Regions from separate parts of the Homo sapiens genome. Here all the other regions are linked to region 1. The links are contacts of gene promoters, found by promoter capture Hi-C in blood cells and fetal thymus (Javierre and others, 2016). All regions are on one chromosome and are shown on one strand. The core of a region is centred on a gene start or on the middle of the fragment in contact, and the rest is flanking DNA. Distances in the headings are between cores, read along the strand shown.

The links. The method cuts DNA at HindIII sites, captures the fragments that hold promoters and counts their contacts. A CHiCAGO score of 5 or more calls a contact.
Region 2: a fragment that was not itself captured here is called in contact with the fragment with the promoter of UBQLN2 in region 1 in 4 of 17 cell types (non-activated CD4 T cells, naive CD4 T cells, total CD4 T cells and 1 more); the score reaches 6.5 in non-activated CD4 T cells.
Region 3: a contact is called between a fragment that was not itself captured here and the fragment with the promoter of UBQLN2 in region 1, in 1 of 17 cell types (non-activated CD4 T cells). The highest score is 5.4, in non-activated CD4 T cells.
Region 4: a fragment that was not itself captured here is called in contact with the fragment with the promoter of UBQLN2 in region 1 in 3 of 17 cell types (naive CD8 T cells, total CD4 T cells and naive CD4 T cells); the score reaches 6.7 in naive CD8 T cells.
Region 5: a contact is called between a fragment that was not itself captured here and the fragment with the promoter of UBQLN2 in region 1, in 5 of 17 cell types (naive CD4 T cells, non-activated CD4 T cells, total CD4 T cells and 2 more). The highest score is 9.0, in naive CD4 T cells.
Region 6: a fragment that was not itself captured here is called in contact with the fragment with the promoter of UBQLN2 in region 1 in 1 of 17 cell types (non-activated CD4 T cells); the score reaches 5.3 in non-activated CD4 T cells.
Region 7: a fragment that was not itself captured here is called in contact with the fragment with the promoter of UBQLN2 in region 1 in 4 of 17 cell types (activated CD4 T cells, naive CD8 T cells, naive CD4 T cells and 1 more); the score reaches 7.0 in activated CD4 T cells.

The regions. Positions count from the first base shown.
Region 1 is chrX:56,561,274-56,564,876 of GRCh38, reverse strand. It overlaps UBQLN2 (ubiquilin 2), which reads right to left and starts at 1,250. Exons shown (of 1, transcript NM_013444.4): 1 at 1-1,250. The coding sequence starts at 1,003. RefSeq lists enhancers at 254-313, 324-523, 920-1,547. The HindIII fragment of the contact is 11,191 bases long and covers 1-3,603 here.
Region 2 is chrX:56,344,409-56,348,011 of GRCh38, reverse strand. No RefSeq gene overlaps it. Among named protein-coding and RNA genes, the nearest start is that of KLF8, 110 kb to the right of the region's middle. The HindIII fragment of the contact is 8,181 bases long and covers 1-3,603 here.
Region 3 is chrX:56,762,383-56,765,985 of GRCh38, reverse strand. The region is part of intron 2 of NBDY (negative regulator of P-body association); the gene reads right to left. Among named protein-coding and RNA genes, the nearest start is that of NBDY, 35 kb to the right of the region's middle. RefSeq lists enhancers at 1,370-1,729, 1,725-2,226, 2,190-2,309, 2,330-2,379. The HindIII fragment of the contact is 2,994 bases long and covers 530-3,523 here.
Region 4 is chrX:56,363,066-56,366,668 of GRCh38, reverse strand. No RefSeq gene overlaps it. Among named protein-coding and RNA genes, the nearest start is that of KLF8, 130 kb to the right of the region's middle. The HindIII fragment of the contact is 9,077 bases long and covers 1-3,603 here.
Region 5 is chrX:56,379,656-56,383,258 of GRCh38, reverse strand. No RefSeq gene overlaps it. Among named protein-coding and RNA genes, the nearest start is that of KLF8, 150 kb to the right of the region's middle. The HindIII fragment of the contact is 665 bases long and covers 1,373-2,037 here.
Region 6 is chrX:56,745,798-56,749,400 of GRCh38, reverse strand. All of the region lies in intron 2 of NBDY (negative regulator of P-body association), which reads right to left. Among named protein-coding and RNA genes, the nearest start is that of NBDY, 18 kb to the right of the region's middle. The HindIII fragment of the contact is 5,918 bases long and covers 1-3,603 here.
Region 7 is chrX:56,401,927-56,405,529 of GRCh38, reverse strand. No RefSeq gene overlaps it. Among named protein-coding and RNA genes, the nearest start is that of UBQLN2, 160 kb to the left of the region's middle. The HindIII fragment of the contact is 1,146 bases long and covers 1,094-2,239 here.

The sequences.
Region 1 (3,603 bases), core at 1-2,500:
TCGTGCTGGTAGTTGCAGAACTCTGGGTAGCTGGCGGTGGTGCCCATGGATTGGGTAGTGGATCGCGATTTTCTGTGCGGGAAGGCTGCGTACCTTCCCCAGAGGAGGAACTACTCCCCACGGAGGCAAATGGATTACCCCCAAACTGCTCTTGTGCGGCATTCAGCATCGGCTCTTGAATGTCAGTGTACATGCGCCGTAAAGCATTATAGCCACCTGGGATGCTTTCTAGATTGCTAAGAGCCAGGTCTTGATTTCTCATCATCTCTTGCATCATGGCTGGATTCCTGGCAATTTCGAGTGTCTGCCTCATTATGTCTGGGTTGTTGAGCAGGTGACTGATTTCTGGGTTTCTCTGAATCAATTGCTGCATCTGTGGATTAGCCATAATGAGCTGCCTCATCAGATCGGGATTCGAAAGCATGCTCTGAACAAAGGGATTTTCCATTATTTGGATCATCATCTCAGGGCTGGCCATAAGCTGCTGCTGCATCTGGCTCTGGAGCTCAGAGAAGTTGGTCGAGCTCAAGCCCAGGCTGCTAAGGCCTGCAAGTCCTCCCAGGCTCCCCAACCCAAACGGGTTGCTATTTGTGGAAATAGGTGTGGAGTTACTCCTGGGAGTCGACGCCGAGGTAGTGTTAGTTCCCGCGGCATTGCTAGGCTGCGTGGACTGGCCCTGAGGTCGGTTCTGGCTTTTGATGACAAGGTGAACAGTCAGCCCATCATGGATGCCATGCTGGATCAAGGTATCTTGATCTTTTAAGATTTTTCCGGCAAAAATCAGCACTAGCTGATCGGTTTGGGATTTGAAGCGTTTCGAAATCGCTTCCTTAAACTGCTGAACCGAGCTGTTCTCGGGCACCGCGAACTCCTCTTTCTCTTTGGGAGTCTTCACCGTGACTTTGATGATTTTAGGCTCAGCCGGGGCAGCAGCCGAGCCTTGGGCCGCAGCAGGGCCGCGGGAGGGGCGCGGGGGGCCGCTGCTCTCGCCATTCTCAGCCATGGCGGCCGCGGTGACGCAGGCGGGCAGGGAAGGCGCGGGCGGGCGAAAGAGAGAGCGCGAGGGAAGGAGGAAGGAAGGAGGCACCGCCGCAGCGGGCTGGGCCGGGTCAGGCGGGGAGCGCGGAGCACGGTACCTCTGTGATGAAGACTGCGGTTCCCTGGTCCTCCGGTGGAGAAAGGCCTGGGCGTAGGCCGCTGGCTGAGGTCTCCGCGCTCCGGTCTCTGGGCCTCCTCCGCCGCCGCCTTGTGATCCGACCGCGCGCACTCCCAGCAACTCTGGCAGCCGCTCCGCCTGCTGATCCCCGCCCCTTCCCCTCCCCCAGTTCCGCGCTCGCCTCCCCGCCCCCTCTGCTGACGCGGCGCCAGGCCTAGATTGATAGATTTGGCTCGGTCAAAATTAAAAACTTCTGCACTGAAAAGAAAAAAGGGAGAGAGAGAAACAAAGGGAGAGAGAGAAGAGAACAGAACAGTACAGAGCAGGCGAGGCAGAGAGGGTGAGACGGAGAGAAGGAGGCGGTAGAGAGTCAGCTTCTGTAAACGACATTAAAAGACCAATGGAGAATGTATATTAGCAATCTGTAAGGCAGTAAAAGGGTGAAAGCCTGAATCGAACAGATCCCACGTATAAGACGAAAAATGAATAATAAAGAACTCTGACAAAGCAAAAAGAAAAGAGGAACACCTCCAGTAGGGGAAGGGAAGAAGACAGAGCAGGAGCGTGCATTTTACAAAAGGAGTGCAAATGGCCAATAGACATTAAAAAAGGATGATTAATTTCACTACTAATAAAAAGAAATCAAGTTAAAACAATAAAATTCTACTTTTGGCTTATCATATTGGCAGGGAAAAAAATAATGGTAAACCTTCTTGTTGACAGGGACCCTAAAAAATGCCCTCTCAGGCTAGCTGAAGTGTGAATTGTTACAACCATAGGGCAATTTGAAAATATATATCAGCATTTTGAATGTTTCCACCTTTATTTAGAAATGCCTAACCTAGACACTTCGCCTAATAATCGGATGAGGATGCAAAAATATTTATGTATAAAATGTATATACATTGTAGCATTTTAAAATGTTATTTAAATATATTAACTATCTGTTTACATGAGATTAGTTGAGCACATTATCATATTACCATACAAGAAAATATAGAGTGTCTTTAAAGGTATACATGAAATAAACTGTAGTTATAGGGAAATCACAGAGTATTTTCAATTATGCCTTTGTATATTTCTGTACAGTTACAAACTATATAAGAATATATGTTCCAATATCAAAAATACAATAAATATATTTTTATTTTAAAAGCAATTTTTGAACAGTTTGTTGTATATGTAAACCGTATGTGTAAAAAAATCTGGAAGGCTATGCACAAATAAGTTAATGGCTGTTAGTACTGTTTGCTGAAATTATGAATAATTCTTATTTTCTATTTTCATAAGATTTTGAATTTTCTGATGATTTTTGTAAGTATGCACTACAGAAAGGTATTTTGGGGAAGAGTATGGGTAGAAATTGACAGGCACATAATAGTAGTGGCAAACATTGACATATTTACCTAATTTAATTACAGATTAAGTAAGAGCAATAAAGATGTAGCAATGCTGAGAAAGAGAACTTGAAAAATAGAAGAAATAATTTCAAATTTATCTATATATTTCTAACTCTAGGTTAAACCACACAGAAAATTCTTCCCCAACCCCCACCCTCTACCAAGCATCCACCAAAGCACCACTGCTTTCAACATTTAACAGCATTTCAAAGTCATTAGGTCACAAATACTTTAATAAATCTGAAGATAAGAAAAATATATATATACAGGTATGTTATATCCATCGATGGAGAAATGGAAGAATTAATATTATTTTACCTCTCTATTTTATTAATATAATTAATAAAATACAGAGGTAAAAAGATGACTAGCTTTAAATATGTTAATATGTATAGATCTAAAAAGCCAAATTAATTAGTATTAGGTTGATGCAAAAGTAATTGCGGTTTTTGCCATTGAAAGTAACGAATTGTTACTATTATACAATGGTTTTTGCCATTGAAAGTAATAGCAAAAACCGCAATTACTTTTGCACCAACCTAATACATGCCAAACAGCACTCTAATACATTCTTATGTATATTTGAAATATTCTTTTAGAAATATACCAAACTTGCACCCATGAGGAAGAGGAAATGGAATAGGATACAGGATAGTGAGTAAAGGGAACTTAAATATGTAAAAATGCTTTTTATCTTTAAAATGAAAGCAAATATGATAAAATATCAGCAATAGTTAATTATGGGTGGTGAGAATATGAAAATATTATAGGTAATCTTTAATTTCCATAGAATAAAGCTAGATATTAATAATCAAAGTATGAACAAAAAACCAACCATTTGATTATTAAAACATAACTGAATACTTTTGGGGCAAAGTGCAATGTTCTTATTAGAATAAATTTACAAAAATAATGATAATGAGAGCATATACAGCAATACTAATGCTAGGATTTTTCTACGTGTGATCTGAGAACATTGTTAAGAATGCATGTTTCTAGGCCCCACGCCAAACCTACTGAAATAAGTGGTGCACTGGAAGCTGCATT
Region 2 (3,603 bases), core at 785-3,284, 220 kb after region 1:
ATTAGTAGAAATACCTAATGTAAATGTCAATTTGATGGGTGCAGCAAACCAACATGGCACATGTATACCTATGTAACAAACCTGCATGTTGTGCCTATGTACCCTAGAACTTAAAGTATAATTAAAAGAAGAAAGAAAGAAATTTCCACACTGTTTTCCATAGTGGTTGTACTGGTTTACATTCCCACCAGCAGAGTAGAAGAGTTCCTTTTTCACCACATCCACGCCAACATCCACTGTTTTCTGAGTTTTTTATTATGGCCATTCTTGCTGGACTAAGGTGGTATCACATTGTGGTTTTGATTTGCATTTCCTCAATCATTAGGGAGGTTGAACATTTTTTCATATATTTGTTAGCCAATTGTATATATTATTTTGAGAATTTTCTGTTTATGTCCTTTGTCGAGTTTTTGATGGGATTTTTTTTTCTTACTGATTTGTTTGAGTTCATTGTAGATTCCAGCTATCAGTCCTTTGTCAGATGTATAGATTGTGAAGATTTTCTCCTATTCTCTGGGTTGTCTGTTTACTCTGCTTACTATTCCTTTTGCCGTGCAAAAGCTCCTTAGTTTAATTAAGTCCCAACTGCTTATCTTTGTTTTTATTGTATTTGTTTTGGGGTTCTTGGTCATGAAATCCTTGCCTCAGCCAATGCCTCGAAGGGTTTTTCCAATGTTATCTTCTACAATTTGTATAGTTTCAGGACTTAGATTTAAGTTCTTAATCCATCTTGAGTTGCTTTTTCTATACAGTGAGAGATGAGGATCCAGTTTCATTCTCCTACGTGTGGCTAGCCAATTATCTCAGCATCATTTGTAGAAATGGTTGTCCTTTCCCGACTTTATGTTTCTGTTTGCTTCACCAAAGATGAAACTGTAAATATTTGGGTTTATTTCTGGGTTCTCTATTCTGTTCCATTGGTCTATGTCCCTATTTTTATACCAGTACCACACTGTTTTGGTGACTATGGCCTTATATTATAGTTTGAAATCAGGTAGTGTGTTGTCTCCAGATTTGTTCTTTTTGCTTAGTCTTGATTTGGCTATGTGGGCTCTTATTTTGGTTCCATATGAATTTTAGAAATGTTTTTTCTAATTCTGTGAAGAATGATGGTGGTATTTTAATGGGAATTGCATTGAATTTGTAGATTGCTTTTGGCAGTTTGGTCATTTTCACAATATTCATTCTACTCATCCATGAGCATGGGATGTGTTTCCATTTGTTTCTGTCATCTATGACTTCTTTCAGTAGGGTTTTGTAGTTTTCCTTGTAGAGGTATTTTGACTCCTTGGTTAAGTATATTCTTAAGTTATTGTTGTTGTTGTTTTGTTTTGTTTTTTGCAGCTATTGTAAAAGGAGTTGAGTTCTTGATTTGATTCTCTGTTTGATCGCTGTTGGGGTATAGAAGAGCTACTGATCTGTGTGCATTAATCTTTTATCAGGAAACTTTGCTGAATTCTTTGATCAGTTCTAGGAGCTTTCTGGAGGAGTCTTTAGGTTTTTCAAGGTAAACAGTCACATCATCAGCAAACTGTGACAGTTTGACTTCCTCTTTACTGATTTGGATTCCCTTTATTTCTTTCTCTTGTCTGCTTGCTCTGGCTAGGACTTCCAGTACTATGTTGAAGAGGAATGGTGAGAGTGGGCATCCGTATCTTATTCCCGTTATCAGAGAGAATGCTTTCAACTTTTCCTGATTAAGTATTAAGTTGACTGTGGGTTTATCATAGATGGTTTTTATTACATTGACGTATGTCCCTTGTATGCCGATTTTGCAGAGAGCTTTAATCATAAAGAAATGTTGGATTTTATTGAATGCTTTTTCTGCATCTATTGAGATGATCATGTGATTTTGTTTTTAATTCTGTTTTATCACATTTATTGACTTGCGTATGTTAAACCATCCCTGCATCCCTGGTTTGAAACCCACTTGATCATGGTGGACTATCTTTTTAATATATTGTTGGGTTTGGTTAGCTAGGATTTTTTTAAGGATTTTAATATCTATGTTCATCAAGGATATCAGTGTGTAGTTTTGTTTTATTTTGTTTTGTTTGTTGTTGTTTTGTTTTGTTGTTTTGTTATGTCCTTTCCTAGTTTTGATATTAGGGTAATGCTGGCTCATAGAATGAATTAGGGAGGGTGTCTTCTTTCGCTTTCTTGTAGAATAGTGTCAAAGGTTCGTACCAATACTTCTTTGAATGTCTGATAGAATTCTGCCATGAATCTGTCTGGTCCTGGACATTTTTTTGTTGGTAATTTCTTAATTACCATTTCAATCTCTCTGCCTATATTGGTCTGTTCAGGGTATTTAATTCTTGCTGATTTAAACTAGCAAGGTTGTATTTTTCCAGGAATTTATCCATCCCTTCTAGGTTTTCTAGTTTATGTGCATAAAGGTTTTCATAGTAGCCTTGATGATCTTTTGTATTTCAGTGGTTTCAGCTGTAATACCTCCTGTCTTGTTTTTTAGTGAAGTTATTTTGATTTTCTCTCTTCTTTTCTTGGTTCATCTTGCTAATGGCCTATCAATTATATTTATTTTTTCAAAGAACCAGCTTTTTGTTTCATTTATTTTTGTATTTTCTTTGTTTCAATCTCATTTAGTTCTGCTGTGATTTTGGTTATTTTCTTTCTTCTCTCTGGCTTGGGTTTGGTTTGTTCTTGTTTCTCTACTTCCCTGAGGTGTGACCTATAATGTCAGCTTTTGCTTTTTCAGTCTTTTTGATGTAGGCATTTAGGGCTATGAAGTTTCCTTTTAGCACCACCTTTGCTGTATCCCAGAGGTTTTGATAGGTTGTGTCATTATCGTCGTTCAGTTCAAAGAATTTTCCAATTTCCATCTTGATTTTGTTTTTGACCCAATGCTCATTTGGGAGCAGGTTATTTAATTTCATGTATTTGCATGGTTTTGAAGGTTTTTTTTGTAGGTGATTTCCAATTTTATTCCACTGTGGTCTCAGAGAGTGCTTGATATAATTTAAATTTTCTTAGATTTATTGAGGCTTGTTTTATGGATTATCATAGGGTCTATCTTGGAGAAAGTTCCATGTGCTCTTGAATAGAATATGTATCCTGCAGCTGTTGGATAAAATGTTCTGTATATATCTGTTAAGTCCATTTGTTCCAAGGTATGGTTTAAATCCATTGTTTCTTTGTTGACTTTCTGTCTTGATGTCCTGTTTAATGCTGTCAGTGGAGTATTGAAGTCCCCCACTATTATTGCGTTACCGTCTATCTCATTTCTTAGATCTGTTAGTAATTGTTTTATAAATTTGGAAGCTCCAGTGTTAGGTGTATATATGTTTAGGATTGTGATATTTTCCTGTTTGACCATGTCTTTTACCATTATATAATGTCCCTTTTGTCTTTTTTAACTGCTGTTGCTTTAAAGTTTGTTTTGTCTGATATAAGAATAGCTACTGTTAGGGGATTTTAATATCTGACTTTCAACAATGGATAGATCACCCAGATAGAAAATCAATAAGGAAACATAGGAATTCAACCTTTCACTTTAGAACAAATGGATCTAACAGACATATATAGGACATTTCATTTAACAGCAGAAAAATACACATTCTTCTCAAGTACACATAAAACATT
Region 3 (3,603 bases), core at 777-3,276, 200 kb before region 1:
ATGTGAAGCTTTCTCCAGGCCTAATTCTGCAGAGGGACATCCCACATCACCAAGGAGCAAAAGAAGAAGCAGTCTGCTAGAACACGTGCCCACCCAGATCCGCAAGTGAAAGGAAAAACAGAAGCAGAATCAGAAGCAGAAGCAAAAGCAAAAAAAGAAAAAGAGGCAAAGGAGAAGGAAGTGCAGGGGGAGGGGGAGGAGGAGTAGAAGGAGGAAAAAGAAGAAAAAGAAAAAGGAGGAGTAGGAAGATAAGAAGGAGTTGGAGGAGGAGGAGCAAGAGGAGAAGGAGGAGAAGGAGAAGAATTAAAGAAGAGGGGTAGGAGGAGGAAGAGGAAGAAGAATCAGAAGGAGAACAGGAAGTGAGAGGTCCATGCCACTGTAGCTGTCCCGAAGGATCTAGTTTAGGAGGGCCTCAACGCGTGGTGACATACAACGAGGGGCACGGAGCCACTTCTGACATCCGGCTTAAAGGACACACAACCAGGAAGCGTCTTGTTGATGGGGTATTTCCTGAGTAAGATCAAAAGCTTTGATCCACAAGTAGGCCTGCAGAAGCTACAGAGAACACAGGTGCTGGCTGAACCTTGCCCTGAAGATGTCATCAGCTGACTGCAAGGGGCTACCAAGCCCCAAGGCTACAAGGCCAAGGCAGGGAAGGACCGCCCAAAAAAGAATAAGATGAAAAACGGGGAGGAATTGGACACCAGGGAAAAGAGATAATCAGCCACCCACTGCAATATGGAGACAGGGCAGAAAGGAGAGGGAAACGCCAATTTCTCCTCGCAGGGGTCAGCTAGAGTCCTACTAATTTCCTTAGGAAAAGTAAGCCTGTTTTCCCTAACGGTGTCCCCGCGCCCAGCTGACCCTGCCTTCCAGTCTGCTCCTGGAGCAGAAGTGGAGAAAAAGTAAAGAGAATGAAGAAGAAAAAAGTGAAGGGAGAAAAACTCCAAAAGTACACAAAGAATCAGTGAGCAATGAGATTGACAGCGAACTGCAATGCAAAGTGCCTCAGATGGACAGCTGGCAGCACTATGAGTGGCCTCTTGTGGCCTCACAGAGGAAGAGCCACCAGCCAGGAGAAAGCATCAGCCCCTCAAGCCCGGGTCTGCACCGCGTGGGCACAGAGGCCTGTTGGGCCAGGAAGCTGCCCTGCTCCCTGTGGCCCCCACCCCTACCCCATCCTACTGTTGCCGGTTCCCCCAAAGTGACCACATAGATGGGAAGCCCTGCTGTAGGTGAGATGGGTGCTCCTAGGCCAGTTTCTTTTTTTTTTTTTTTTTTTTGGTGTTTGTTTTGGTTTTTGGCACCAAAAACAGAAAGAGGGAAAGAAAATGGGGGAAGGGAAAGACAAGACTGCTGTTTGTGGAGCCACATTGCCATCTAGTGGAAGTTGTTTCTGAACACAACAGGATGCACGGACACCTGCCTTCTGCCAGGAACAGAGATCAGCGAGGATGTGCTTAGACTATGTCTAAGCCTGGGTTTCCCCCACCGGGGTTCTGAGCCCTTGAAGGAAGTGTACCTGGCATTGGGACGCTTTGGAGAAGCAACTACTCTAGAGGCCCCAGGACAGAACAGCCAGGCAGCCCCAAGACCAGTCAGCCCAGAGGGCGGAGCTGGCCCGGCAGCCATGTTGAGATGGACATAAACGAAGCCACTGGCCGAGACGGGGGCCGTTTACTCTGGTGTCTTTTGTGGGGAGTTCCGGGGTTCCCTTGGCTGGAGCCACGTGTTGGCAAGGGGGCCCCGATCCTCCCGGGGAACAAAGGAGCTTCGGGATACTGGAGACGTGGCAACCCAGGACCAGCAGTACCTGGAGATGACCAGGGGAACCCATGGTGGGTCGCCCCTACCTGCCCTTTTTTTCGGAGAGAGCTGTGGAACCAGGGAGGCATCCTGGGAATGAGCACAGGCCAAGGGCCAGCTTGGAGTTCCTCTCTTGTCCTGCTTCAGCCTGGGGGCTCCATGCCGCCATCTCTTTTGCGCTCGTGGGGTTTCCCCAGCACTTGTGCCCAGCTGCCTCCGGTTTCTAGATACAGTTTCCGCTTGATGGCAGTATGGCTCCACAAACGCCAACTACAACTGTAACCCTGCCACTTCAACTCCAGGGCCTCCGCCTTTTCCCATGTGAAAAAAGGTAAAGAGGAAAGAGAAACAAAAAAAAAGACAGAGGAGTGAAAGGAATCAGTCACCTGGTCCCAGATTGATCACCAAACTCATGGGACCGTGTGACCAAGGACCAGGACCAGTAGGCTGGAGATCCTGTGGGAATCCTGTTTAGGGAGCCAGCCTTTGCCCTTCCTTTGGCTCTCTGCAGGTTTCATGGCTCTTGCCCGTGCAGAAAGTAAACAACAAAAAACATGATCATTACTGGGACACCACAGGAGGACTAGGATCATAGGGCTACTGCCCCAGGACAAGGTGCTGGTCACCCAGCTGGCTTACACAAGGTTCTGCTGCAGGACTGGGGGTCCTACGAAAGCCTGGAGCTCCAGGTAGAGTTTACCGCCTTGGGCTGACACATGGAGGTCATCAAAATAGGTGGACTGCTCAACTGGAAACCACAGGGCCTGAAGCAGGAGTATCTCTCAGAGAGGACACTCAGCAACTTGCTCAAGTCTGACTCTGCTCAGGCTGTCCTGGGTTTCACACAGATGGGGGTGGGAGGAGGGTGGCTCAGGGGTGCTGGGGAATGCCACCACACACCACAGATTCTTATGGCATCACACAGGGCCAAGGCTCCCAAGGGAACTCTCTCTGTCTCTAACACAAAGTGAGGTTCCTTTTTAAGCAGCTTGACCCAGGATGCTCCAGTTTTACACCAGCTGCTGGATCCTATCTGTTAACAGACTTCCCACATTGATTCTCAGGAGAAGGCGAGAGTTGCCCATCAATCAATGGCATGATGGCCCAGGCCTGGAGTCAGGAATTCTCCCCTGTCTCCTGTTCCCTTTGCACATTTAGAACCTGTGTGGGAGAAATTGTAGGCAGTCTCGTGCCTGTGGTGGTGTGTATGTGTCTGTGTGGGAGAATGCTTGGGCCTGCACCCCTGTGCCCCTGTGAGGTTTCTTGTTTGTGTGTCTATGTGTGTGTTTGTGTGTGTCTGCATGTGTCTCTGTGTGCGGGTGTGTTTGTGATTTCATTTCTGAGGTCCCTAGTGAGTGTGTGTATGTGTATCTGTGTCTATGGTTTGTGGGTGCCTTCCTGTGTGAGAGTGGGTAAACTGGCACATGGCAGAGACAGCCTGCCTGTATACACTGAAATCCGGATAGTTGTGTTCACATGGCTTGACTGGAAGGAGAGGAAATGGGGGAAAACTTGCTGAGGCTCCTACTGGCCAAGATTACATTATTAGATCGTCTTCAAGGAGAACAAGGTAGAAGGATGAATCGTGAGGTACTGGTAGGAAGTGCATTCAGAATGACATTTCACTTAAAAGTAACACATGGGTGGTTTTTTAGAGGACCAGAGGAACTGAACATGTGACCTTCATCTCTGCTCCTTTCAGAACAAAAGTGAAGCTTTCTCCTTGCCTAGCACGCAGAGGGACATCCCCCATTACCAAGGAGCAGAAGAAGCAGTCTCCATAGAACATTTGTCTCG
Region 4 (3,603 bases), core at 781-3,280, 200 kb after region 1:
GACAGAAGAATCTGAACAACAGCCTTCAGCCTTAGACCTTCCCTCTGATACAGGCTTCCCAAATGAGAAGAAACCAGAAAACCAGCCCTGGTAATATGACAAAGCAAGGCTCTTCAACACCTCCCCAAAATCACACTAGCACAAGTTAAAAAGCAAAATCAAAACAACAACAACAAAAAGTACTCAAGCAACAAAGAGCATGATGAATGCAACAGTACCTCACATTTCAATACTAATGTTGAATGTAAATGTTTTAAATGCACCACTTAAAAGATACAGAACAGAAGGATTAATAAGAACTCACCAACTAACTGTCTGCTGCTTTCAGGATACTCACCTAACACATAAGGACTCACATAAACTTAAAGTAAAGGGGTGAAAAAAAGGCATTTCATACAAATGGACACCAAAAGCTAGCAGGAATAACTATTCTTATATCAGGAAAAACAAACCTTAAAGCAACAGCAGTTAAAAGAGACAAAGAGGGACATTATATAATGGTAAAAGGCCTTGTCCAACAGGAAAATATCACAACCCTAAACATATATGCACCTAATACTGGAGCTCCCAAATTTATAAAACAATTACTAATAGATCTAAGAAAAGAAATAGACAACAACACAATAATAGTAGGAAACTTCAATACTCTGCTAACAGCACTAGACAGGTCATCAAGACAGAAAGTCATCAAAGAAACAATAGATTTAAACTACACCTTGGAATAAATGGGCTTAACAGATGTGTACAGAACATTTCACCCAACAACAGCAGAATATACATTCTATTCAACAGTGCCTGGAACTTTCCCTAAGACAGACCATGTAATAGGCCATAAAGCAAGCCTCAATAAATTTAAGAAAATTGAAATTACATTAAGCACTCTCTCAGACCACAATGGAATAGAACTGGAAATCAGCTCCATAAGGAACCTTCAAAACCATGAAAATACATGGAAAATAAATAACCTGCTCCTGAATGACCACTAAGTCAAAAACGAAATCAAGATGGAAATTAAAACATTCTTTGAACTAAATGACAATGAAGACACAATGTATCAAAATCTCTAGGATAAGCAAAAGCTAAGAGGAAAGTTCAGAGCCTTAAATGCCTATATCAGAAAGTCTGAAAGAGCACAAACAGACAATCTAAGGTCACACTTCAAGGAACTAGAGAAACAAAAACAAACCAAACCCAAACCCAGCAGAAGAAAGGAAATAACCAAGATCAAAGCAGAACTAAAAGAAATTGAAACAAAAAATACAATACAAAAGATAAATGAAACAAAAAGCTAGTTCTCTGAAAGATAAATAAAATTGATAGATCGTTAGCAAGATTAACCAAGAAAAAAGAAAGAAACCCAAATAACCTCACTAAGAAATGAAACAGGAGCTATTACAACTGACGCCACTGAAATATAGAACATCATTCAAGGCTACTATAAACACCTTTATGCACATAAACTAGAAGACCTAGAAGAGATGGATAAATTCTTGGAAAAATACAACCTTCCTAGCTTAAGTCAGGAAGAATTAGATACCCTAAACAGACCAATAAAAAGCAGCAAGATTGAAATGGTAATTAAAAAATTACCAACAAAAAAAGTCCAGGACCTGACAGATTCACAGCAGAATTCTACCAGACATTCAAAGAATTGGTACCAATCCTTTTGACACTATTCCACAAGATAGAAAAAGAAGGAACATTCCCTAATTCATTCTATGAAACCAGTATCACCCTAATGCCAAAACCAGAAAAGGACACCACCAAAAAAGAAAACTACAGACTGATATTCTTGATGAACACAGATGCTAAAATCCTTAACAAAATACTAGCTAACCAAATTCAATAGCATATCAAAAAGATAATCCACCATGATAAAGTGAGTTTCATACAAGGGATGTAGAAATTGTTTAACAAGTCAATAAATGTGATTCATCACATAAACAGAATTAAAAATGAAAATCACACAATTATCTCAGTAGATGCAGAAAAAGCATTCGACAAAATCCAGCATTGGTTTGTAATTAAAACTATCAGCAAAATCAGCATAGAAGGGACATACATTGATGTAATAAAAGCTATCTATGACAAACCCACAGACAACGTAATACTTAATCAGGAAAAGTTGAAAGCATTCCCTCTGAGAATGGGAACAAGACAAGGATGCCCACTCTCACCACTCCTCTTCAACATAGTACTGGAAGTCCTAGCCAGAGCAATCAGACAAGAGAAAGAAATAAAGGGCATCTAAATCAGTAAAGAGGAAGTCAAACTGTCACTGCTGATGATATGACCGTTTACCTTGAAAATCTTAAGGACACCTCCAGAAAGCTCCTAGAACTGATCAAAGAATTCAGCAGTTTAATTAATGTACACAAATCAGTAGCTTTTCTATACACCAACAGCAACCAAGCCGAGAATCAAATCAAGAACTCAACCCCTTTTACAATAGCTGCAAAAAAAAAAAAAAAACTACTTAGGAATATACCTAACAAAGGAGTCGAAAGACCTCTACAAGGAAAACTTCATAACACTGCTGAAAGTTATCATAGATGACAGAAACAAATGGAAACACATCCCGTGCCCATGGATGGGTAGAATCAATATTGTGAAAATGACCATGCTGCCAAAAGCAATCCAGAAATTCAATACAATCCTCATCAAAATATCCCCATCATTCTGCACAGAATTAGAAAAAACTATTCTAAAATTCATCTGGAACAAAAAAAAAGAGCCTGCATAGCCAAAGCAAGACTAAGCAAAAAGAACAAATCTGGAGGCCTCACACTACTATACTATAGTATAGTAGCATCCAAACTATACTATAGGGCCATAGTCACACAAACAGCATGGTACTGATATAAAAATAGGCACATAGACCAATGGAACAGAATAGAGAACCCCAAAATAAAGCCTAGTACTTACAGCTAACTGATCTTCGACAAAGCAAACAAAAAACATAAAGTGGGGAAAGGACACCCTTTTCAACAAATGGTGCTGAGATAATTGGCAAGCTACATGTAGGAGAATAAAACTGGATCCTCATCTCTCATCTTATACAAAAACCAACTCAAGATGGATTAAGAACTTAACCCTAAGAACGGAAACCATAAAAATTCTAGAAGATAACATTGGAAAAACCCTTGTAGACATTGGCTTAAGCAAGGATTTCACGACCAAGAATCCAAAAGCAAATGTAATAAAATCAAAGATAAATAGCTGGGGCGTAATTGAACTAAAGAGTTTTGCATGACAAAAGGAACAGTCAGCAGAGTAAACAGACAACCTACAGAGTGGGAGGAAATCTTCACAATCTATACATCTGACAAAGGACTAATATCTGGAATATACAACAAACTTAAATCAGTAAGAAAAAAAAATTCAAACAATCCCATTAAAAAGTGGACTAAGGACTTGAACAGACAATTCTCAAAAGGACATATACAATTGGCCAACAAACATATGAAAAAATGCTCAACATCACTAATGATGAAGAAAATGCAAATCAAAACCACAATGTGATACCATCTTAGTCCTGCAAGAATGGCCATAATCAAACAATTAGAAAACAGTAAATGTTGACATGGATGTGGTGAAAAAGGA
Region 5 (3,603 bases), core at 456-2,955, 180 kb after region 1:
TGTGTTTGCTTCCTGTCTTAAAGATTTTTGTTTGTTTTCTTTGGTTCCACCTTATTTCTCCTTTCTCTTTTGCCATCTTTGGTACCAAGAAAATTCTAGAGAAGGCTTCTACTGAATTGAACCTCTTAAAGAACTAGGAACAAAGGTGTCAGTCACCTCTTTTTGGGGTGCTTTGTTTTCTCTGTGGAGTTTCAAGAGTCATGGGCAGATTCTTCTTAGAGCTAAACGGCTGCTTTCCTGTATTGTGTTACCTGACATCTTTGGCTTTTGGGGGTACCAGATATTACCTTGTACTGTGAGAGGATTTGTCCTTGGCATGTGTAATGGCAGAAAATTGCTACAAAGTTAGGGGTGGCTGAGGACAATTTACAGGAAGTAGTCTTAGCTGGTTTTTTTCCTTTTCTTTTCCTCCTAGGAAGTTGTTGTTTAGGATCCCAATTTTAATATAACGGTGCATTCTAAGGAGTCTTCTCCATTGCCTTCTCTCCTGAAATTAATATTGATTCACTTGTCTGAGCATTTGTGTGAGGAACCGAACTGTCATTTTTGTGGATAAAGAAAAGACTGAGTTTTCTCCAAAGAGAAAAGACATTTTGCTCCTCCCAGCCTAAAGGCATCTCTGGGTGAATGAAGGCCAAGTGGGTGTGTCTGGGTGTTGACTCCCCATGACTTGCAGTGACCCTACAGGAAACCCCCAACAAAATTCGTTTAAAAAGGCTCTTCCAGGAAGCACGTATAGGAGCTGGTCATTCTGTGCCTTGAGCCCTCTTGGAGGTGCTAGATCTTTGGAGAGAGAAACTGAGACACATAAGAGGGTAGAAATGACTCAATGGTGAAACAGTGTGGAGTCCCACCCACAGACAGCACACGTCAACCCACTCCACTAAACTCTAGGCCACAAATAATCTTCTAACAACAAAAAAAAAGAACAAGGAGAATGATCTTTCAGATACTATGTTGGTTTTATGGCACTTCTACTTGCAAGTGTTTGTGTAAAATGGACATATTATGGTCTTTTAGTGCACAATTACATCAAGGAAAATTCAGAGCCCAAAGGTTGACCTCCCACTATTAAGTTCATAAGTTCTCTATCTTTCTGCATTTTTTTTCTGTCTACTCTAAGTCTGTTGTTCCTTTTCTACTGAGATAAAATCCACTGTTTGCATCCATTTCTTTTTGTTATTGTTTTTGCAAACCAATGAGTTTTTATTAAAATCTCATGGCCATAATCCTAAAGTAAAGCTATAGAATCTTTGTATGAGTGTGTATTTGTGTGTTTATGTGCATATACATGCATTTTCTTACGTGCTTTTGGCAACAAGATACCAAATTTGGCTTAAACAGAGAGTACTCATAAATTAAATAATAAGCTTAAATGCTTTTCAAGTTCACATTACTTAAGTAAAATCTCCAATAATCTAGCTTTAAAATTATTGGTAAAGTAATATTAAAAATGTCTTAAGAATTTTTATTAATAGCATACATTTTTGTTTACATTTATTGATCAAGAGATTTTATACTTATCCCTGCCAAATACTATAAGGTGTCAAATTTGGCATAAGTGTTATTAAACTATAAGCCCAGCCCAAAACAGAATGTTCTTTGCTTGTGTAATGTTTGATAAATAAGAGATTAATATTAATTTAATGAAAATAGCTAAATCTTGAATTATTTGGCAAAATAATAATATATTTAATGTTAAGGCTCTTACTTAGGTAGACACCTGAAATTCATAGGCTATAAAATGATTGACAGGAAAAGAAATTTAAATAATGGTTATCACAGTTTTTATAAATAATTTAGGTAAACTATTGAAATAAAATAATTAGGTAAATCTAATGGGATAAGTACTTGTCCCATTAGATTTATATCTAATGGGATAAGCATTATAATCTAGAATCTAAAGTTAAATTAAATAATAGGTATTTCACTAAATATCTGGGTAATTTACAATTAAAAAAATATATTGTAGAAAAACATTCTAACATAATGTGTGTTCTTGTTAAAAGATGAATATTTTTTGTCTAATTAAAAGCTTATTTAGCTCTCCCTCTCCCTCTCCCTCTCCCTCCTCTCCCCACGGTCTCCCTCTCCCTCTCTTTCCACAGTATCCCTCTGATGCTGAGCCGAAGCTGGACAGTACTGCCGCCATCTCTGCTCACTGCAACCTCCCTGCCTGATTCTCCTGCCTCAGCCTGCCAAGTGCCTGTGATTGCAGGCGCGCGCCGCCACGCCTGACTGGTTTTCGTGTTTTTTTGGTGGAGATGGGGTTTTGCTGTGTTGGCCGGGCTGGTCTCCAGCTCCTAACCGTGAGTGATCCTCCAGCCTCGGCCTCCCGAGGTGCCGGGATTGCAGACGGAGTCTCGTTCACTCAGTGCTCAATGTTGTCCAGGCTGGAGTGCAGTGGCGTGAACTCGGCTCGCTACAATCTCCACCTCCCAGCCACCTGCCTTGGCCTCCCAAAGTGCCGAGATTTCAGTCTCTGCCTGGCCGCCACCCTGTCTGGGAAGTGAGAAGCATCTCTGCCCGGCCGCCCATCGTCTGGGATGTGAGGAGCCCCTCTGCCCGGCTGCCCAGTCTGGGAAGTGAGGAGCGCCTCTTCCCGGCCGCCTTCCAATCTAGGAAGTGAGGAGCGTCTCTGCCCAGCTGCCGATCGTCTGAGATGTGGGGAGTGCCTCTGCACCGCTGCCCCGTCTGGGATGTGAGGAGTGCCTCTGACAGGCGGCGACCCTGTGTGGGAACTGAGGAGTGTCTCTGCCCGACCGCCACCCCGTCTGGGAGATGAGGAGCGTCTCTGCCCAGCCGCCCCATCTGAGAAGTGAGGAGCCCCTCCTCCCGGCAGCTGCCCCATCTGAGAAGTGAGGAGCCCCTCTGCCCGGCAGCTGCCCCATCTGAGAAGTGAGGAGTGTCTCCGCCTGGCAACCACCCCGTCTGGCAGCCACCCCGTCTGGGAGGGAGGTGGGGGGCAGCCCCCGCCCGGCCAGCCGCCCCGTCTGGGAGGGAGGTGGGGGGCCAGCCCCCACCTGGCCAGCCACCCCATCCAGGAGGGAGGTGGGGGGCCAGCCCCCACCCGGCCAGCCACCCCACCCAGGAGGGAGGTGGGGGGTCAGCCCCTGCCCGGCCAGCCTCCCCGTCCGGGAGGGAGGTGGGGGGTCAGCCTCCGCCCGGCCAGCCGACCCGTCTGGGAGGTGGGTTGCGCCTCTGCCCGCCCGCCCCTTCTGGGAAGTGAGGAGCCCCTCTGCCCGGCCACCACCCCATCTGGGAGGTGTAACCAACAGCTCATTGAGAATGGGCCATGATGATGACGGCAGTTTTGTGGAATAGAAAAGGGGGAAAGGTGGGGAAAAGATAGAGAAATCAGATTGTTGCTGTGTCTGTGTAGAAAGAGGTAGACATGGGAGACTTCATTTTGTTCTGTACTAAGAAAAATTCTTTTGCCTTGGGATGCTGTCGATCTATGACCTTGCCCCCAACCCTGTGCTCTCTGAAACATGTGCTGTGCCCACTCAGGGTTAAATGGATTAAGGGCGGTGCAAGATGTGCTTTGGTAAACAGATGCTTGGAGGCAGCATGCTCGTTAAGAGTCATCACCACTCCCTAATC
Region 6 (3,603 bases), core at 597-3,096, 180 kb before region 1:
AGTGTGTATTAAAAACTTGCTTATATATATATAGAATGGAGTTCAATTCAAGGTCTAGATTAACAAAAATAAGTGTTTAATCTGATGATATATTTAAAAGTTGTATGGGATATAGAAAATTTCATTGTGCAGGCTGTCTTGCATATTGCAGGTTATTTAGCAATACTGACCCTGCCCACAATATGTCAGGAAGCACTTCAATAATGATTATCTTAAATGCCTTTCACAAACTTTCCAATCACCCTCTCAGGATTATACTACCTCCATTGAGTACCAATACCCTAGTCTTATCCAAAGAATAAAACAAGTCCTTCTCTTGTCACTGCACCCTCTCTAACAACCAGGCCTATTTCTTTTATTTCTCAGTAACTTTGAATTCTCTTATGTCCTATATCTTCAGTCTCTACCCCTTTTCTTGTTACTTTAAGTCAATAAAACTGCAAGTTCCTACCATTATTTTTTAATACTCCCTTGGCTCTTAATCTTCTTACAGTTATCATTTAATTATAAAATATTGTCCAATTTTTATCCTCCATTCTCATCCCATCTCGTATGCCAGCTACCCTCAACTTGGCACTTCCTAGTAACTCTTCAACCCACTGTAATCTGGCCTCTGCTCTCACAACACGGAAACCGTTAATGCTAAATTCACCAATAAACTTAATTTACAAATTAATAAATATTTTTCAGTACTGAACCCTCTAATGTATATTATGTTGCTGTTCACTACATTTTTCTTAATCGGCATCAGACTTTTTCAGGTTTCCCCCTCATCCTATTACTCCTTTATCTGTTCATCTTTCTCTAGATAATCCTTAAATGTTAGTGGTCCCCAGAATTTCCTTCTCAATCCATAACTTTTCTCTATATATACCTTCTTCTAGATTATTTAATTTACTCTCCTGGTTTTATCTATCACCTTTATGCTGATGGTTATCTAAATATATTTATATGGACAACACTTCTCTTGCAATCTCAGATCTTTACCTGCTTGCCAGGAACCTCCATCTAGGTATCTTACTGAAAATGTTGAAAACCTGCTCTTTTTCTTGTATTCTATAACTCAGTTAGTGATTTCATGTAATACTCAAGCCACATACTTGAGAACTACCCTCTATTATTCTGTTTCCCTTGACATCCCATCTGTGATTGTCTTTTGATGTGTTAATTTGGCTAGGCTAGAGTCCTCAGTTATTCAATTTAACTAGGTTTTGCTGTGAAGCTATTTTGTAGATGTGATTACTGTCTATAATCAGTTAACTTTAAGTAAAGGAGATTATCCTAAATAATTTGGGTAGACCTGATTCAATCAGCTGATGGACCTTAAGACCAGAGCTAAGGTCTCCCTGAATAAATTTAACCTGAGGACATCAGCTTCAGCCCATGTCCAGGAGTTCCAGTCTGTCCTTCCTGAAAGCCCACTCCACAGATTTCAGGCTTGCCTACACAGCCCCCACAAGCCAATTCTTTATAATACATTTCTTAATATATATCTCCTACTGGTTCTATTTCTCTGGTTGAACCCTGATTGATACACCATCTAATCAATAATACTTCATAAAACTTTCTCAAATTCACTGATCTGTGCTCCATCCCAACTACCATTGGCTGAGTTCAAGCCTTCATCACTTTTTGTCGGGATTTTCATACAAGCATCTTAAATGATCTTCTTACCCCAATCTTGCTCTACTATACTATCCTCCACATGGCCACTAGTATGACCTATATAAAATATAAATGTGAACACAGCACTCTCTTTCAAGATTGTCAGTCACATCCCATTTCCTACAGATCTATCTTGAGCCTTTGTAGTGCACAAAGTCTTCATGTTTATGCTTCAGCTTGCTGATCTAGCTCCATCTCTCCACTCCAGGAAAACTACCTACCATACATCTCACCTCCTCCAAAAACCAGCCTACCTCGAGTTCTGTAACTTTGGTCATTATTTTCTCACTGCTTGAAGTTCTTTACCCATCTACAATCATCCATCCTTACTTAGTACCTCATTTCATTTCAAAGACTGAGCTTAGATATTGATCAATACAGGAGGCCATTCCTGGCTCTTCTAGTCTTGCTCATGTGCCTTCTTGTATTCTCTTATAGAACTCTGTGCCAATCTCTATCTACAGAACTTACCAAACCAGTTTATGAACTCCTTGGTGAGTTAGATGTTATATTTTTGTAACCCTGGCACATAAAACAATGCCTGGAATTTAATACATGCTCAATTTAATAGGCATTCTTTAATATTTGTGTTGGTTGAATAAAAGAATGGATGAATCACACACTCGGTGTCAGGTTATGGCTTGCTGCTATAATAAAATCTGTGGTAGGCAAAATGATGGCCACCCAAAGATGTCCACACCACAATTACAAGAATCCATGACTATGTTATTTTACAAGGCAAAAGGAACTTTACTGATGTGATTAAGTTAAGGATCTTGAGATGGGGGAGAATATTCTGAATTATTTGGGTGGGCATACTCTAATTGCATATATCTTTAAAAGCATATCATCTGAGTCAGTGAAAGATGTAATGACAAAAGAAAATGGAGAAATTCTAAGTATGAGAGGGACTCAATTTGCCATGGTTGGCTTTGAAGATGGAGAAAAGAGATGACAATCTAAGGAATTTGGGTGGCCTCTAGAAGCTAGGAACAGCTCTTAGCTCATAGCCAGCAAGAAAGGGATCTCAGATCTACAGATCTACAGTGGCAAGGAACTGAGATCTACAGATCTCAGATCTACAGTGGCAAGGAACGGAATTCTGCCAATAACCAAATGAGCAGGACATATCCCCCCAGAGCCTCTAGAAAGGAATGCAGCCAGCCAACAGCTTGACTTCTCATCAGGTCTGATGAGACCCATAGCAGGCTTCTGGCCTCCAGAACTATAATAAATATGTTCTTTTAAATTTCTAAATTTGTGATCATTTTGTTATGGTAGAAATATAAAACTAATACAGAATCCATGCAATAAAATCTGGCTTATCTTCCCAGAGACAGAAGACCCAGATGCTATGATAACATGTCAGGAGGTAAGAATAACAGGAGAGGAACTCGATCATATCATATTTGCCTCTTAAAAATGATCAATATAGAGTAGTATGAGAAAGTCTTTATACAATGAGAGGGAGAAAAGTGACCAAGTCATAGGAAAAAGTACTTAAGGAGACTGCACATGAAGCTGCTGAAAAAAAAAACTTTATTCCCTATTGAGTTGATTGTGAAAGTTTGTGAATACACAGACAGACAACCAACCGGACTAAGTAAATGCTCTGAAGTAGGAAAATGTGATGGCAGAACAGATATAGAAACTCCTCTTCATGCTGAGCATTTCTGTAAACAGGTAACCTAGACATGGAATATGGTGCAAATTATAAACCATAATTTGACCCGTGTCCAGAAAAGTAACTTTCTTAAGGGGGAAGTAAAAAATACCCACCTAGCTATCTGTAAAATCCCCAAAGGTATCTATGCTCTTGGGATAAACTAGAATTTTGTGCCTAAGAAGGACAGAACATCGCCCATGTAGTCTTCTTGCTAAAAACGCTTAAACTAATCATGGGAAAACAATCAGACACATTTCATACTGTGAGACATA
Region 7 (3,603 bases), core at 417-2,916, 160 kb after region 1:
GAAGAAAGTGTGGCGATTCATCAAGGATCTTGGACCAGAAATACCATTTGACCCATTACTGGGTGTATACCCAAAGGATTATAAATAATTCTACTATAAAGACACATGCACATATATGTTTATTACAGCACTATTCACAATAGCAAAGACTTGGAACCAACCCAAATGCCCATCAATGATAGACTGGATAAAGAAACTGTGGCACATATACACCATGGAATACTATGTAGCCATAAAAAAGGATGAGTTCATGTCCTTTGTTGGGACATGGATGAAGCTGGAAACCATCATTCTCAGCAAACTAACACAAGAGCAGAAAACGAAACACCACATGTTGTCACTTATAAGCGGGAGTTGAACAATGAGAAAATGGGGATACAAGGAGGGGAATATCACACACCAGGGCCTTTGGGGGGGTGGAAGCTAGAGGAGGGACAGCATTAGGAGAAATACCTAATGTAGATGACAGGTTGATGGGTGCAGGAAACCACCATGCCGTGTGTACACCTATGTAACAAACCTGCAGTTTCTCCACATGTATCCCAGAACTTAAATTATAAGAACAACAACAAAAAAGAACTATTGTGGCTATCCACACCACTCCTCCACATCCCTATATGCCAAACTACCTCTAAACTCTTATGGAACAAATGGACATCTAGTGTTTTAGAATAATCTTTTCAACTACTACACATCACCTGCTTGTACTTTACTTTGTTATCTATGTAACATTCTTTGTTTAATACCAACCTAGTGTCCAGTCATACTTAGCTTTGTTTGTTTTGATGCATGTGTCTACTACTTTCCAGCCCTTAACCCTATCACAGTCCACTAAACTTGTGTTATACCGAATTTATTTCAAAAATGCTGATCTAAATAATCTAGTTTTCTCATCTGTGGTAGGCAAAATAATGACTCTCCCTCCCATGACACCTGAAGATGTCCACACCCTAATCCCTGGAACCTATAAACATGCTACCTTACATGGCAAAAGAGACTTTGCAGGCATGTTAAAGTTATGTGTTTTGAAATGGAAAGATTGTCCTGGATTATCCCTGTGAGTTCAATCTAATCATATATACCAAGAGAAGCTTTCTTAGCTGAAGTCAGAGAGATGGTACTGAAGAAGATGTAAGGAAGATTGGAAGCATGAAAGAGACTTAACTTGGATTTGTTAGTTTTGAAGATTGAGAAGAGGGGCACAATCCAAGGAATATAGGTGACATCTAGTAATTGGGAAAAGCCCTCGGCTGACAGCCAGCAAGGAAACAGAAACTTCAGTTATACAACCACATGAATTAGATTCTTTAAAATCCTAGATGAGCAAAGTAACAGATTCTCTTCCAGAGCTTCCAGAAAAGAAAACACTCTTGCAAACAACTTGATATTAACCTAATGAGACCTGTGCTGGACTTCTGACCTCCAAAATTGTTACTTTAAGCCAATAAATTTGCGGTAATTTTCTATGGCAGCAATAGAAAATTGCTACATTATTTTACAGATAAGGAGGCAGACCCAGTGAACAGGAATGACTTCCCCAGGGTTACATTACTTGACAAAAGCAGATCTGGGAGTAAAACATTTGAAATATTTTCTACTTAATAGGTATTGCTGTATTTCAGCCATGGTAAATCTGTTTCACATATTGACTATTGCAATTCTCATCTAAGGTAATAATTTCTGGTCATTTATAATGATAAAGGTCTTTAAACAGGAATTTAAATCAAGGATTGTAACACTCACTCTACAAATTGTTCAAACAATTTAAAGAACTAATTTGAGCTAAACTCAACATGCAGCACTGAGCTTGCTGGAATTTGGTGGGAACCCCTCAAATTATGCCTGTTAATAGCCTCAATGCTAGGCAGAAATCAGGAATATGCTAATATTCCTGATCTCAATTAGTTGTCATTTCATTGGCCAATTAGAAACAACTAAAGAGGCTTTTGAGTGTCCATAGAAATTCATACAGATGTGTGCTTCATGTGTTCAGGGACTACAGGACAACAAGATAATGCACAGATACATTCCTAAGGCAATACAGGCTTGTGCATAATGTCTCCGCTTTTTTGTGTAAACAATTGGAAACACACACATAAGTACACATTTAATGCTGCAAACATTGGAGTGGGAACAAAAGAGCTGAGCTGATAATCAGGATTCATTGACTCAGTACATGCATGTGGGCACTCATTCATTCCCCAATACTGGTTCTACCCGTGCACACATACTGTAAGCTTAGGTTTCCTTGCTAGCTTCAGCTGTGGGGTTTAAGCATTTCAGAGGGAAGAAATGGTCAGCAATAGCGTGGGAAGTTCTCTCAGAATGAAGACCAATATCTAAATAAAAGTTTTCTTCCTTAGTGAAAAATAATGACGTTTTTACTACCAGTCATTAGGATTATTACTTGGCATTTTCTATTCAGAAAGGTAAAACTATAACTCATAAAATGATTCAGTCCATCAGGATTTAAATTCAGTGTGTCCAAGACCTGCAAGGGGACATGTCCCTTCTAAATAGCATTACAACTCTTTAAAGATATTAACAAATGTTTAAATTTAAAAAATAGCAAATTCCTATAGAAGTTATTGTTACCAGCAGATAAGCAGCCTAGGTAAGATCAGCCCCAGCAAGGCTTAGTTGGCAATCATGAAGCTGATCTCACACATTCAAAAATAAAAGAGCTTTCCACTGCTCCTACACCTCCCTTTTTCTCAAGACATGATGGCAGGACAACTTCAAACAATGGAACTAATTGACATTGACCCCTGAGAGGTGGGCAAAAGAGAGCTGTATTACATAATTAACCTCACTGGTGTAGACACATGGTGGTTCAGCAGAGATTAACTTCTGGTCCCTAACAATAATAAAATTGAAGTTCATAGGGGCTTTTCCCAGGAATAAAGGCAGGGCTTTTCTGGTCTTTCTGTATCCCATGATCAAGAGATGACTATTCTAGCTTGGACTCAGGAGAATTGGCAATTATTAGAACAACAATGAGAGTAATTAACTTTCATTAAATTTTTTCTATGTGCCAGATACTATACTAGGTACCTTACATAGATTATCTCATGTAATCATCACAATACAGTATGATGTAGATACTACTAGTATCCAGATTATACTGATAATGAAACTGAGCCACAGAGAGGTCCAAGCACTCACAACACATAAACTGTTCAGAATTCAAAACCAGAAACTTGATTCCACTAAATATATGCCTCTCAATACAACCTCTCAAGATATGATTATACTACAACTTTATAATGAAGTATCATTAGATTGATGGCGATGATGACAATAATAAATTTTTATCTTTCTATAAAACTCTTCAGTTTACAAAGGTTTTTTTTTGCATTTCTTTTTGTTGCTTTATTATTTTATTTTCTCAACAATCCTAGGGTTTAGGAGCTATTATCCACATTCATTTCACAAATGAAAAAAAAAATGTTGTTCAGGAAGGTTAAGTACTTTACCCAAAATCATATAGCTAGGCAAGGGCCAAGATAAACTTTGAACTCAAATTGTCTACCTCCCTAACCTGCCTTCTTAACCACTATGCTCTCTGAGCTGAGAAATTTTATCATTGTCACTCTTCTTTCC